Linked DNA regions of Homo sapiens: region 1 is linked to region 2. Evidence: promoter capture Hi-C in 16 types of primary human blood cells and fetal thymus (Javierre and others, 2016). All regions are on one chromosome and are shown on one strand. Each heading gives the region's core, a stretch centred on a gene start or on the middle of the fragment in contact. The rest is flanking DNA. Distances are from core to core; before and after follow the strand shown. Region 1 overlaps USP40 (ubiquitin specific peptidase 40). Region 2 holds the start of KCNJ13 (potassium inwardly rectifying channel subfamily J member 13).

Region 1 (6,099 bases), core at 104-2,603, 740 kb after region 2:
ATTTACTCATGTAACCAAACACCACCTGTACCCCAATAACCTATGGAAAAAATAACAATAAAAAATGTGCTCAAAATATGTTTTTTTTTTTAAAAGTCAAAACCAAACCAGTAACAGATTCTAAAAAAAAAAAAAAAAAAAAAAAAAAAAAAGATGGCTGGGCTCAGTGTCTCATGCCTGTAATCCCAGCACTTTGGGAGGCCGAGGTGGGCAGATTACCTGAGGTCAGGAGTTTGAGACCAGCCTGGCCAACATGGTGAAACCCTGTCTCTACTAAAAACACAAAAATTAGCTGGGCGTGGTGGCACACGCCTGTAATCCCAGCTACTTGGGAGGCTGAGGCAGAAAAATTGCTTGAGCCTGGGAGACGGAGGTTGCAGTGAGCGGAGATCGTGTCACTGCACTCCAGCCTGGCTGACAGAGTGAGACTCTGTCTCAAAAAAAAAAAAAAAAAAAAGATAATCACAATTAATCACAGATTGACAAGGACATGTAGAAACTGCAACCCTGACACACTGCTAGTGGGAGTATAAATGGTTCAGTCACTTTGGATAATAGTGCGAGAGTTTCTTATAAAGTTAAACATAAATTTGCAAATGACCCAGCAATTCCAATCCGGTACATGTACCCAAGAGAAATGAAAACATATCTCCTCACCAAGACTTATGTGTAAAAGTTCATAGTGGCATTATTCATAAAAGCACAAAAGTAGAGACAATCCAAATGTCTATCAATTCATGTTTGTCCAGGATAAACAAAATGTGATACTATCCATATAATGGAATACTAGACTAGTCAGCAATGCAAAGGAACAAGCTATTGATACGTACTAAATCATGGACTAACCTCAAAAATGATATGCTATGTGAAAGAAGCCAGACACAAAAGACTATATGTTTTATGATTCCAATTACATTAAACATTAAGAAAATAAAGTCTATAGAGACAGAAAGCAGATTAGTGGTTGCCAGGGGCTTGGAATACAGATGGGTACAGGGATATTTTTGGAGTAATGGAAGTATTCTAAAACTGGATTGTGGTGATGGTTATAGAACTCTACACATTTACTGATGATTACTGAATTAAACACTTAAACTGAGTGAATTTTATGGTATGTAGATTATATCTTAATAAGGCTGTCACAGAAAGCCTAATGGTAAGTGAATAGTGAGTTTGCAGAATATACATTCAGTATAGTACAACATGAATACATGGACTAGATACACACCCACATCAGATATACTCATTGTATCTGGGGAAGGAGAGAAAGAATAGGTCTGAGGAGGAGAACACAGGGGACTTTAACTTCATTTATAATGTTTCAAACAAAAACAAACATATGACAAAATGTTAATATTTGTCCATTTTGGGTGGTAGGTATGTGAGTTCTCCCTAAACTGTTTTTTGTATTCTCCTATATTTTCTTCAATTCAAGACCAAAATTAAGCTAAACTAAGAACCGAAAAGAAAATGTAAATGATTACCTAGTTCCTTCATTAATTTTAATTCCTTTATGGCTTTAATTCGAATATCAAACACCATCTAAAACAGAGAAATAAAATAATGACTAAGTTGTAAAAAATGGGAGGAGATGAAAATGAGGATTGTCACTGTGTGCATAAACAAATTATTTGAGATATTAATTACCTGACATTTAGTAGTTTTTGCCCACTGGAAATTTTTCCATCCCTGAAATCCTTTTATAAGATCAAAAGCAAAAACTTAGGACTTCATAGTTAAGTTTTTACCAAATTGATGTTAATTGGAACAGAAAGGACACCTACAGAAAACTACAGAAACTGTAGAAAACTACAGAAACTAAAGAAACTAGCTGAAAGGCAATAAGCTGACAAACCAGTAACTTTTCTCATGAAAGCAAACAAAATAAACTGCAGGCAATCACATTTCTCTATGTCAGGAATGATGAATGTGGGGCCAGTAAGCATAAATAAAAATGTATACTATCAGCCCGAGTGCACTATTTAAAATTTCTGTTTAAATGACTTTATTTTAGATTCTTTCCCTTTTTCAGTTTAACCTAATTTCCTCTAGGATACAAAATCTTGTAAATTTAGGAGTAAAACCGATGTCAGACAATCTGTCCTCCCACAGCACCCCACATTGTGAAAAGAAGAAACAGAGTGAGTCATAAAGGACTTCACCAAAGTCTCTCACTTAGGGTCAAGGTACTAGATCTTCTGAACTTTAGTGTATTCATCATACAGTGTAAATATTAACACACTTTAAGAAATTATAATATTTATATAAAAGAAAACAACATTCTAGTAAGTTTCAACTTGTTATAGAAAAAAAACCCATAATGAATTGAGACTACATAAATATAAAAAGGTATTTCCTGAGATGGTGTTTAACGAAACTAGTCTTCAAATGGAGAACTGAAAGAGTTCCTTTTAAGAACACCTGGCTTTACAGAAAAACAGAGTATAATGTAAAACAATTTAAGATAAATTTAAAAAACAGAAGTCCACAACACAAAACCAAAACATATGTATACTTGGCTTAAAAAAAATACAGAAAAGACCCTTGAAAACAGCATTTTCAAGGAAGCCAAAGAATTTCATTTTGTGGGAGCCAGAGAATTCCATGAACTAACTAAATGAGTAACTCCCACATTCTAATTCTAGGCTTTGGAGGAAATTTTAAAAGGCACGTATTTTCTTGAAATATGCTAAGGGCTAACATAGGTAAACAAGCAATAATCAAATGTTAAATAAAAAGCTGACTTCCTAAGAGCTGAAGTCTATTGAGACAACTGTTCTGAAAGATTAAGGTATTGTTTTCTAAATAAAATTCTGTTAACTGAAAATCTATCAGCCAACCTTTAATTATATTCTACTCACTGTGTTAACAGTTGCTGATATTTTAACTTGCTTCTCTTCAGATTCTAACTGGCATAAATTTTTAACGTGGAGCCAGTCAATCTCATTCATACTAGTGACCCATTTCTCTTCCTTGGTCAACAAGCTGTAGGTAAAAAGAAAAGATCAGAAATTAATACCTTTCCTTAGGCATCACTTCCAAAACTCTGCATGTGTCACTTAATGTGACTAATTAGAGGTGACCAAGTTCTACTGAGTCGTCTCTATGATAAGTGGGCTACCTTTGCAGGGTAATGTTAGGCAGTAGTCTATAGAGTCTATATTCATGACTCCAAATATTCTTTGATTTACCTACATAATTTGTTGCCACATTTTTCACAGAGAACTTCTGTAAGTAAACAGTTGCTGGCTTCTGCCTGCACCCTGCAAATCACTAGGGGAGCTTTAAAAGAGCACCTATGCCAGGAGCCTACCCCACTGGATCTAGATTTCATTTAACAACAGGGCAGCCATGTGCAGTCTGTAGACTGACACTGCACAAAAGGGCCACATCTAAGGAGTGTCACACATGGCATATATATTGTATACTGCATTTCTACATAGAGTTTTGTTTTATAATTGCAGCCGGCAGTAGAGTATCTTGTTCTAACATTTTCCCACAGATAGTAGTAAAGGGTCCTGAAGAGGTGCCTTCTTTCTAATTCACACAGAAGCATTAATGGGCTTGCCGAAGTCCTCTTTGGGAATGTACATTAGAGCTCTGAAACATCATTCTACTCTTTATTGCAGTTATTCCATTCTGAGCTCCTACCTTAAGCTAGCAATCCCAAATAAAACAAAGTATGAAGCACAAGATGCTCCATGAAGACTACTTTAAAATAGTGAAAAACTGTATGATAATTATGACAATGACCGTAATATATTAACTAAAACATTTAGCACTTACTGTGTGTACTTTGTAAGCACTCAACTCTTTCAATCCTCTCAAGTCTATGAAGTTGGCACTAGTTATTATCCCTATTTGACAGACAAGAAGACTGAGCAGAGAAAGACGAAATACCTTGCCCAAGGTCCCACTACAGCCTACTGACTTGCCTAGGAGCACAGTTAGGCAAACTATAATGTCACATAGATTACTATGTAGCCATTCAAGGCAGTTTATAAAGAGTCTACAAATCTCAAGGTTGGGCAGGGGTAATGGAAAGCAGGATACAACTACTTATCTACAAAATAATCATTATTAGGTTTAAAAAGAAAGGCACCCAAATGCTAACAGTGATTAACACTGCATGCTGAGAAGACGGATACTGTTTTGGGTCCCTTCTGTCTTCACTTTTGTATTTCCCCAGTCCCAATAAATGCATACTGCCTTTTATAAAGGAAATACAGTTCTTATAAACAAGGTAGGGAATGTCTGCAAAACCCCTGTCCAAAAGAGTAATAGTGGTAAGTGTACTACGAAAGAAACGGTCCACAAGTGCTCTGCTTCTCTGCATCAAAGCCACTATAAATAATGATACAGACATCCTGCAATCTAAGTAAATCTGTAGCACTGAGAAAACAGGGAGCTTGAAGTCTTCAATATATGGAAATATTGCAGTTACAGTGTATGACACATTGACTACAGCAATGTACTGTCACAGACATAGATGACAAAGAGATGCAGCTTTAAATGTGACCACAGGATTCATGGGGGTAATTCGCCACGTAACTGCTCTATTTGGGCAACTGGGTTCTCAAGAGTCACAGAACGGATTATAAGGAAACAATGAGTTGTCTTATGGGTCTCCTGAAACAAAATATCCAGAAACAATTTAGCCATAATGTTAATACCTTCTTCAGGAAAATTTTCAGTTTTCTCTGTGAGAATTTCCTTCGGTTTTATAACTGGCACTAATCAGAATTCACTTGATAACTTTTGCATTACAGCCAACTAATTGATACTCTATACAGTCTAGAAAATCAGGGATACTTATATTATTTTCTCACCACATTTACCAAAAAGTCCCTTTACAAAAAATCATGTTTTTCTCTAAGTTACATAACCTAAAACATTCCTGTATGCAATATTTAGAACATAATGTCTAGAAATAAAGAAACATTCAACTCTTGTCACTAAAATAAAGCTTTAGAGTTCTGCTGGGTGGTACTGTAATTAAAATGACTTTTAGAAATCCTTTTTCTCTTGTTAGCGAGTTACCTGTTATCATCATGAGAATCCTGAATTAAAATTGAGCTTCCATTTCTGAGCCCTTGCTCCCTGAACGTCTTCCTCATGTCTTCCTTGGGGATGGCCGTCCAACCCTCCCCACCTGGACATCCAGCACTGTTGATGAAGATGACACCTGCTGGGATTGCTAAGGCTGTGAGGACAGTGCCCACTTCTGCATTAGCTGGAAAGACATGTGGAGATTCTATCACCTGACAACACTTTTCTCCATCACTGCTTGTGTCTAGATGAAGAACATTTAAAAGTAGAGGTTCGCAGTCAATACCAGTTTGAATGTGGACTCCACCAACCTGCAATCATACCAAGACAACCATTAGTACAGCTGATATTTGCCAACACCGTCAACATAACATGGTAAAAGATTACTCTTAGAGAACAACCCTCATTTTTTCCAAGTAAAATAAAATTTTCACAAATGTCTGTTAAGCATCAGAGGAACAACTTCAGATTTTTCTTTTGAAACTTTCTTATCTTTTATTTTTTTAGGAGAAATCTATGATAGACTGGAGATAGACATTTATGAGTTATCATGGGTGGTGATGAAGCCAGATTGGCCAAGGTCAGTTCACAGAGTGGCTGAAGTGCTCCTGGCCGCCTTCTAGAGATAGAAAATTCACTCTCTACCTCCAAACCACCCCCACTCCCCAACTCAGTATAGATTCTCACTCTTCTAAATTCCCACAGGCACTATGCACAGACCCCCTACTCCAGCACGTATGGTGCAGTTCTTCACACGACGAGGGCCTAAAAGGACACAGATCAACTGACTGGCCTTTGATCTAGCATCTGACGCACAACCTGGTATAACGGAGGCGCTCAAGAAATGTCTCCTTGGCGTACAACTAGCACTGATTGTCCCTAACATTTATCAAGCATTTCAGTAGTTTTCTAATATCTAATTGCCCTCACATAGGCTGAATAAAATTTCATTACAATGACTTTTTTTTTGAGATGGAGTCTTGCCCTGTCACCCAGGCTGGAGTGCAGTGGTGTAATCTCAGCTCACAGCAACCTCCACTTTCCGGGTTC
Region 2 (5,886 bases), core at 474-2,973:
AAAATTCCTTACTTAGAGCCTTTCTGTATAGACTGTAGCTAACAAAATTCATCATTCTCATTTGGGCTTTTTCAGGACTGTTGTTACTTCTTACCTACAACTTTTGTAGCACTCTTACTCTAGGCTCTTTACAATTGTATTTTTTTTCTCTTGCAACTAAATACATGGAAAAACCTGTGAACAGGGAAGTCAAAAGGCTGATAATCGGAACAGTTAAGCAGCATTTTTTTTTTTTTAACCTAAGACTGCTGGATTTGGTTTGGATTGTGTTGGCAAGTGGAGTAATATAGAGAAGGAAGATTGATTTCTGATTCCCACTTAACCAATTACCCTGAATAACTATTCTGTGGACTCTTATAGTCAGTGTGGTTTAGTGTAGAGAACGCAGGATAAGGGGATATGGCCTTCAGGCTCTAGCACTGTTGGTTACATAGCTGTGTCATTTTGGGCAAACCACTCAATCCCATTGGCCTGGCATCCTTAGATTAAAACAAAGAAAGTGAAAAAAGAGGGAATTATGATAATAAGATTTCTTAAAGCTCTACAGACTTATGTAAACAAACATATTTCCACTTCCTACAAAGGATACAAGTTTCCTATATGATTTCTTTTATTTCTGTATAGTTTGATGTCTGCTCGTATGGTTTAAAAAATTATACTATTGTTACCTGATATTTAAGTCTCATCAGCTGATCCCAATAGAAAGTGAGGTGGAAGGTTGGGAAGGTTTGCTTCTATTGCTGTGTGTGGGCTGTAAAATATTTGCCCATTTATAAATTATTTGGAGGAAAAATAGTACCTATTAAAAAATGATAGGCAGCTTCACTGATCATCAGAATTCATTCTACTCATTGGGTTGTAGCACTTAAAAGTATGTATTTTCTGTTGCCATGATAAAAAATAGTATAGTTCATACTGAGGAGTTAAGATAAAGGCTATAACTAACAAACATTAAATGAAGATGGCATTACTATGTATTTGTTCATGTCTGGTGTAAATACTTTAAGACTATATTGAAAGTCTTATAATGATTTCTCCTGCCCTCCACAATTAGGGCAAACACTATTGAGTTCTAACCCTGTTATATAAGCTCAGAGATTCTATTTTAATTTCTCAGTTGCAGAAGTATCTATTAATTTCCGCAATAATTCCATGCTTAAAAATTTACGATTAGGATACTCATCACTTTCTTCTTAGATTACAGAAGTAAAAACAAAGTGGCTTATTCTTTTGGCATTTGTTTTTTTATGCTCATTTTGGGTTTTTGAAATTCCTTCCAAAAGAAAAAGACTTTTTTTTTCCTCAAGCCACTGAATTTTTTTTCCTAAGGCCTTTATCCTCTACTGATATATTGTAATAGAAAATTAGTATACATTTAATAAAACAGTTAAGAAAATTTCCAGTAATACATTCAATATGGCTGTTATTGCATTTTTAAGATTTAAGGGAAAAGAATATAGAAACCTTACTATCCTACACTATAGATAATGTCTTTGTTTTAAAAATCTGTTGGAAGTAATCTAGCTCTGTTGCTATTTGCCAGTCAGTTTCTTTCCCTGTTTCCCATAAGGAAAGAAGAATGGATATTATTGCATGTACTCACCAGTTCTTTTGCTGGGTCAGCCTTTATGCCAAGGTAGGTCTTAAGGAAATTTACAGAGTCTGCCTTTTTGATCAGATAATTTTAATCTACAAGTCTAGTTTGTAGGTTCTCTTCTTGGACTGGTTTTACAGCTTACATTCCTCTGTTTATAATGTTGTGGGGGCTGGTTTCAGCTGAGGTTGATGTGATTGGTCACTTAGCCTGCAGGGGGGCCAATTAGCTCTGATCATGTGGAAAAGAATGCTGGTTTGTTAGGAGGTCTTTCTTTACCCAACACAAACCTTAACAACTCTGGAGAAAGCCTCCAGAACTGACTTGGAGAAGGGGTGCATTTTTTCCCTCTAATCAGGACCGGTCTTTAGTAAGTTTGCATAATCTTACTTAAGAGTTTTTTTGAAAGTTCAAAGGGATAAAATTCCCTGCAAGATTTTTCAGCCGTCTTTCCTTATATAGCATGTTGAAGTGTGAGATATTTCCTTTACTAATCTTTTTTTTTTTCCACCATGTCTTTGGGGAAGATTTATTTGGATAAGGACTTATAGGCATAAATTAATGCATTGATTTTCTTAGTTTTCTTCTCATGTCTCATCAGAATGGCTACCATTAGTTCCAGAACTAGTAATATAGATAATTACGTGAAATCTTTTATTTTTTTGGTTAGGAAACAAACTTTTTTTTTTTAAAGGCTGTATACAAAGACCTTGAATAGGAATAAAATTAATTGTTCTGTACCTGATACTTTAAAAAATGCACACCTGTGGGAAAGAACCGAAGAATTTTCTTAAGGCTTATTTTAATGATGTTTAGAAGATGTTTTCCTGATCAGTGTGATGAAGTATAGTGTTAATAAAACATAGTGTACAGTGTACAGAAAATGTAACACAACATTGAAATAGTGTTTAGCTGGAAAATGTGATCCAGCTTGTTGGAACCCTGAAACGTGCTGTGGTATGGCTTTGTGCAGTGCCTTAGTGAACAGTACTTTTCTCCTCCTCCGTTAGCTGCTGATTTTAAAACTTTGACCAAATGTCACATGTAAGAGGATCTGAGAAACAAAGACTGTGATTGTTCAAAGTAAAATCTTGGAAGGCCTGCTGGGAAAATTATTAATGTAGACCAATATAATGCTACTTAGAAAGTGAAATCCGCCTTTGTAGAATCCTCTCCGTCCCCCCCCCGCCCCACAATTTAAAAAATATATTAATTCCTTCTTTGTTTTATTAGTACCAAATACTTCAACACAAGTTCAGACACAGCATTAGAAACACTGACCTTCAGAACTAGGGAAGGTAAAGTATAAAGAAGGATTTGTGGTGTGATGCTCATTCCCTGCATGTACTGGTAGGAATTATAATGTGTATCAATTCCCAGCTAACAAATTGCAGAAAAACAGAACAACACAACAACAAAATACTAGAACAAGTATAGTATAATACTGCTTCTAGAAAGCAGAAGCACTTGAGTGTATCTGTCATGTGTTTTGAATATACATTGTATATTTTTTATTTTCATTTTTTTTAGACATAGAGTCTTGCTGTGTCACCCAGGCTGGAGTGCAGTGGTGTGATCACAGCTCACTGCAGCCTCGACCTCCCAGGCTCAAGTGATCCTCCCACCTCATCCCCCACCCCCTGCAGTAATGCCACCACATCTGGCTAATTTTTTATTTTTTGTAGAGGCAGGGTCTTGCTGTGTTGTCTAGGCTGGTCTTGAACTCCTGGGCTCAAGCTGTCCTCTCAATTCAGCCTCCCAAATTCCTGGGATTACAGGCATGAGCCACTTCACCTGGCCTGAGAATACATATTATAGTAGGCAAGACAGTTAAGGATTTTATTAAACTTAAAAGTCTTTTTCCATAGTATACTTGGTTTCAATATATTGAGACAAAAATGATTTGGCAAAATGATCTTCAATTAAGAAAGAAATGTCTTAAGTGAAGCTAATTTCTGGATCTCTACAATTTGAAAGTCTTGCTATGGTCTATAAACAGTGATTCCTACTGCTGTGAATATTGTAGACCAGCTCTGAAGTGCCCACTTAGGAGCATAGCTCTCCCATTACAATAGCCTGAGCATTTAAAGTCATTTCTGGTTGAAGTTACCAGGTTAGCTGGTGTAGGGGAGAGAGAAGACCTTCTCTCTTCCTTTTGAAGGTTTGATAATTGAGTCTATAATATAAAGCAACAGTAGGTAGACTTAACAGAAGAAAAACAGTTTACATCCTTATGCACAAGAGTCCCACAAAACATGAGACTTGAGGAAGGACCAGATGATTGAAGTTCTTATAGCATTGGAATAGGGATGTGGAGGTCCTGGGGGAAGGTATTGACAAGCTGTGGGAAAATGAGGGGAGGAAATGTATGATGAACAAAAGTTGTCTAGTTATTGAGATAAAGTCTTTCAGGTATTGAAAATTAACTTGAGGAAGAACGCTACTAGACCTTTTAATCTCTTATGTGATAAGGTTAATCTTCCCTGATTGATGAAATTCTAGGGAGGGGACAAAGGAATTTTTTGAGATAAGGGGGCATCAGAGAAGGCCCCTCCCTGTGCTTGCTGTTCCCTAAGTTCTCTCAGTTTGCAGTAATGAGCATACCAAAGCAGTATATTTTGGGGTGGTGTTTCCTGGGGCTCCTTCACTGAGATGACACGGATATTGGCACAGATGATATGCCACCTTCACCCAGAAACTCATGGTCCTTCCCATCTAGACAATTTGTTATTTCTGTTGTAGCTGTTTCACAGTAAGGTAATTGGAGATGGCTCTAAAACATTTCTTCGGTGAATGAACATAAATGGTAAATACCTGTTCATAGATTGATGGATTGTGTCTCCAAAATTATAATGATTAAATTAAACAAGGTACCAAGACCTGGTTAATTATCCTGTATTAAATCTAGTCCTCTGTCCCTAAAGGCATTTGATTTTCTTTCTGACTGAAATAATTCACTATATATCTATAAATGTATCACATTTTTCTTGAGAACAGTAAAATCTTCAGTTGGAGTGCGATTTCTGGCCTATGTAAGTAGGTAATCTCACAGCTTTAAAACGTTAGCTCTGGTCTCCATGTTCTTGCTTACATAGTGTACTTGGCTTTCTTTTGAAGATGCCTAGTCTCTTTCCATTTCCACATGTCCAAGCCAACTACGAATTGCCTTCCCACAGATTTCAGGCAGCCTCTGGGTATGTACCAGCAGACAGCTGAGCATGAGGGCTGTAGGGTTGTGGTACATATTCAGATGGCCTGAGGACCTTTTTCAGAGATTCTGATACACTGCAGTTTCTCCAGTCTCTGCTGTTTTTTCAGGACTCTTGTTAACCAGCTGAGCAGGTTATTTATTCCTCAGGGAGAAAGTCGTAACTCTCTGGGTACAGAAGTTAAACTGCTCTGTCCTAGCCACCCTGAGTTTTGTTTATAAGTAATTGTAGGGGAGAGGGGTGGTAAATATCAACACTTGAGTGGGATGCCCTTTCACCATTTTCTTTGGTGTTAGATTTTTTTTTGGTGTTGATCAGATAATATATATCTGAACAGAGTAATACAAAGTCACTCCTTAAAAAATTTGCACATAAACAAGCTTCAAAGTCTGTCCCATAATTCCACTTTTGCTTGTGGAGCTTGTGGAGATTGGGCACTTGTAAGCTCCAAGTCTCACAGCTGTAGATTTTGTTGGCTGAGTGCCTCTTTGCTCCATCTGAAGTTTTCCATAAACACTATTTTTGGCCGTGGGTCAAACATGCACACAGGTGCCCTTTTACTGCTCTTTCTCCTTAGGAAGTCCACTCAGTTAGACCAGGCAAAAACTAACACTGCATTTTAATTTAATTTAATTTTTAGATGAATCCTATTTGGACTTAATAAACTAAGATTGAAACAACCAAGTATTTATTGCCACTGGGGAAATTGTATATGTAGTACGTATGTATTTTAGCACCTTTACATAATTTGCTTTTAACGTAAGGACATAAAATATATCGTTTTCCTCATAGTCATGTTTGCTATATTGAATGGAAAAAAATACATTTAAAATTTGTGTTTCTTTGCCTTTTGAGGGTCACAGACACCTTTAAAATTCTGACGAAAGCTGTAGACCCTTTTCCCTGAAAGAAGAAGAAAGCATGCCAGCACAAAGTGCATGTCCAGTGCAAGGATTCACAGCCCTGAGCTCATTCATTGACTGTAGATTAAGAATATTTGGTTCAGGCATGAGTTTGTAAATAATTCAATAAGGTTTACTTTAAAATCATCTTGTTTGTAAATCTGTTAAGATTTTAAAAGTA

Evidence for each region. Contacts are between HindIII fragments. The CHiCAGO score rates a contact against its expected background, and 5 or more counts as called.
Region 1: a fragment that was not itself captured here is called in contact with the fragment with the promoter of KCNJ13 in region 2 in 1 of 17 cell types (M2 macrophages); the score reaches 5.2 in M2 macrophages.

What each region holds. Positions count from the first base shown.
Region 1 is chr2:233,518,130-233,524,228 of GRCh38, forward strand. It overlaps USP40 (ubiquitin specific peptidase 40), which reads right to left. Exons shown (of 32, transcript NM_001365479.2): 16 at 5,041-5,360; 17 at 2,862-2,985; 18 at 1,485-1,542. Among named protein-coding and RNA genes, the nearest start is that of USP40, 46 kb to the right of the region's middle. The HindIII fragment of the contact is 7,221 bases long and covers 1-4,964 here.
Region 2 is chr2:232,774,842-232,780,727 of GRCh38, forward strand. KCNJ13 (potassium inwardly rectifying channel subfamily J member 13) reads right to left here and starts at 1,724. Exons shown (of 3, transcript NM_002242.4): 1 at 1,604-1,724. All of the region lies in intron 8 of GIGYF2 (GRB10 interacting GYF protein 2), which reads left to right. RefSeq lists a silencer at 5,178-5,472. The HindIII fragment of the contact is 5,243 bases long and covers 1-5,181 here.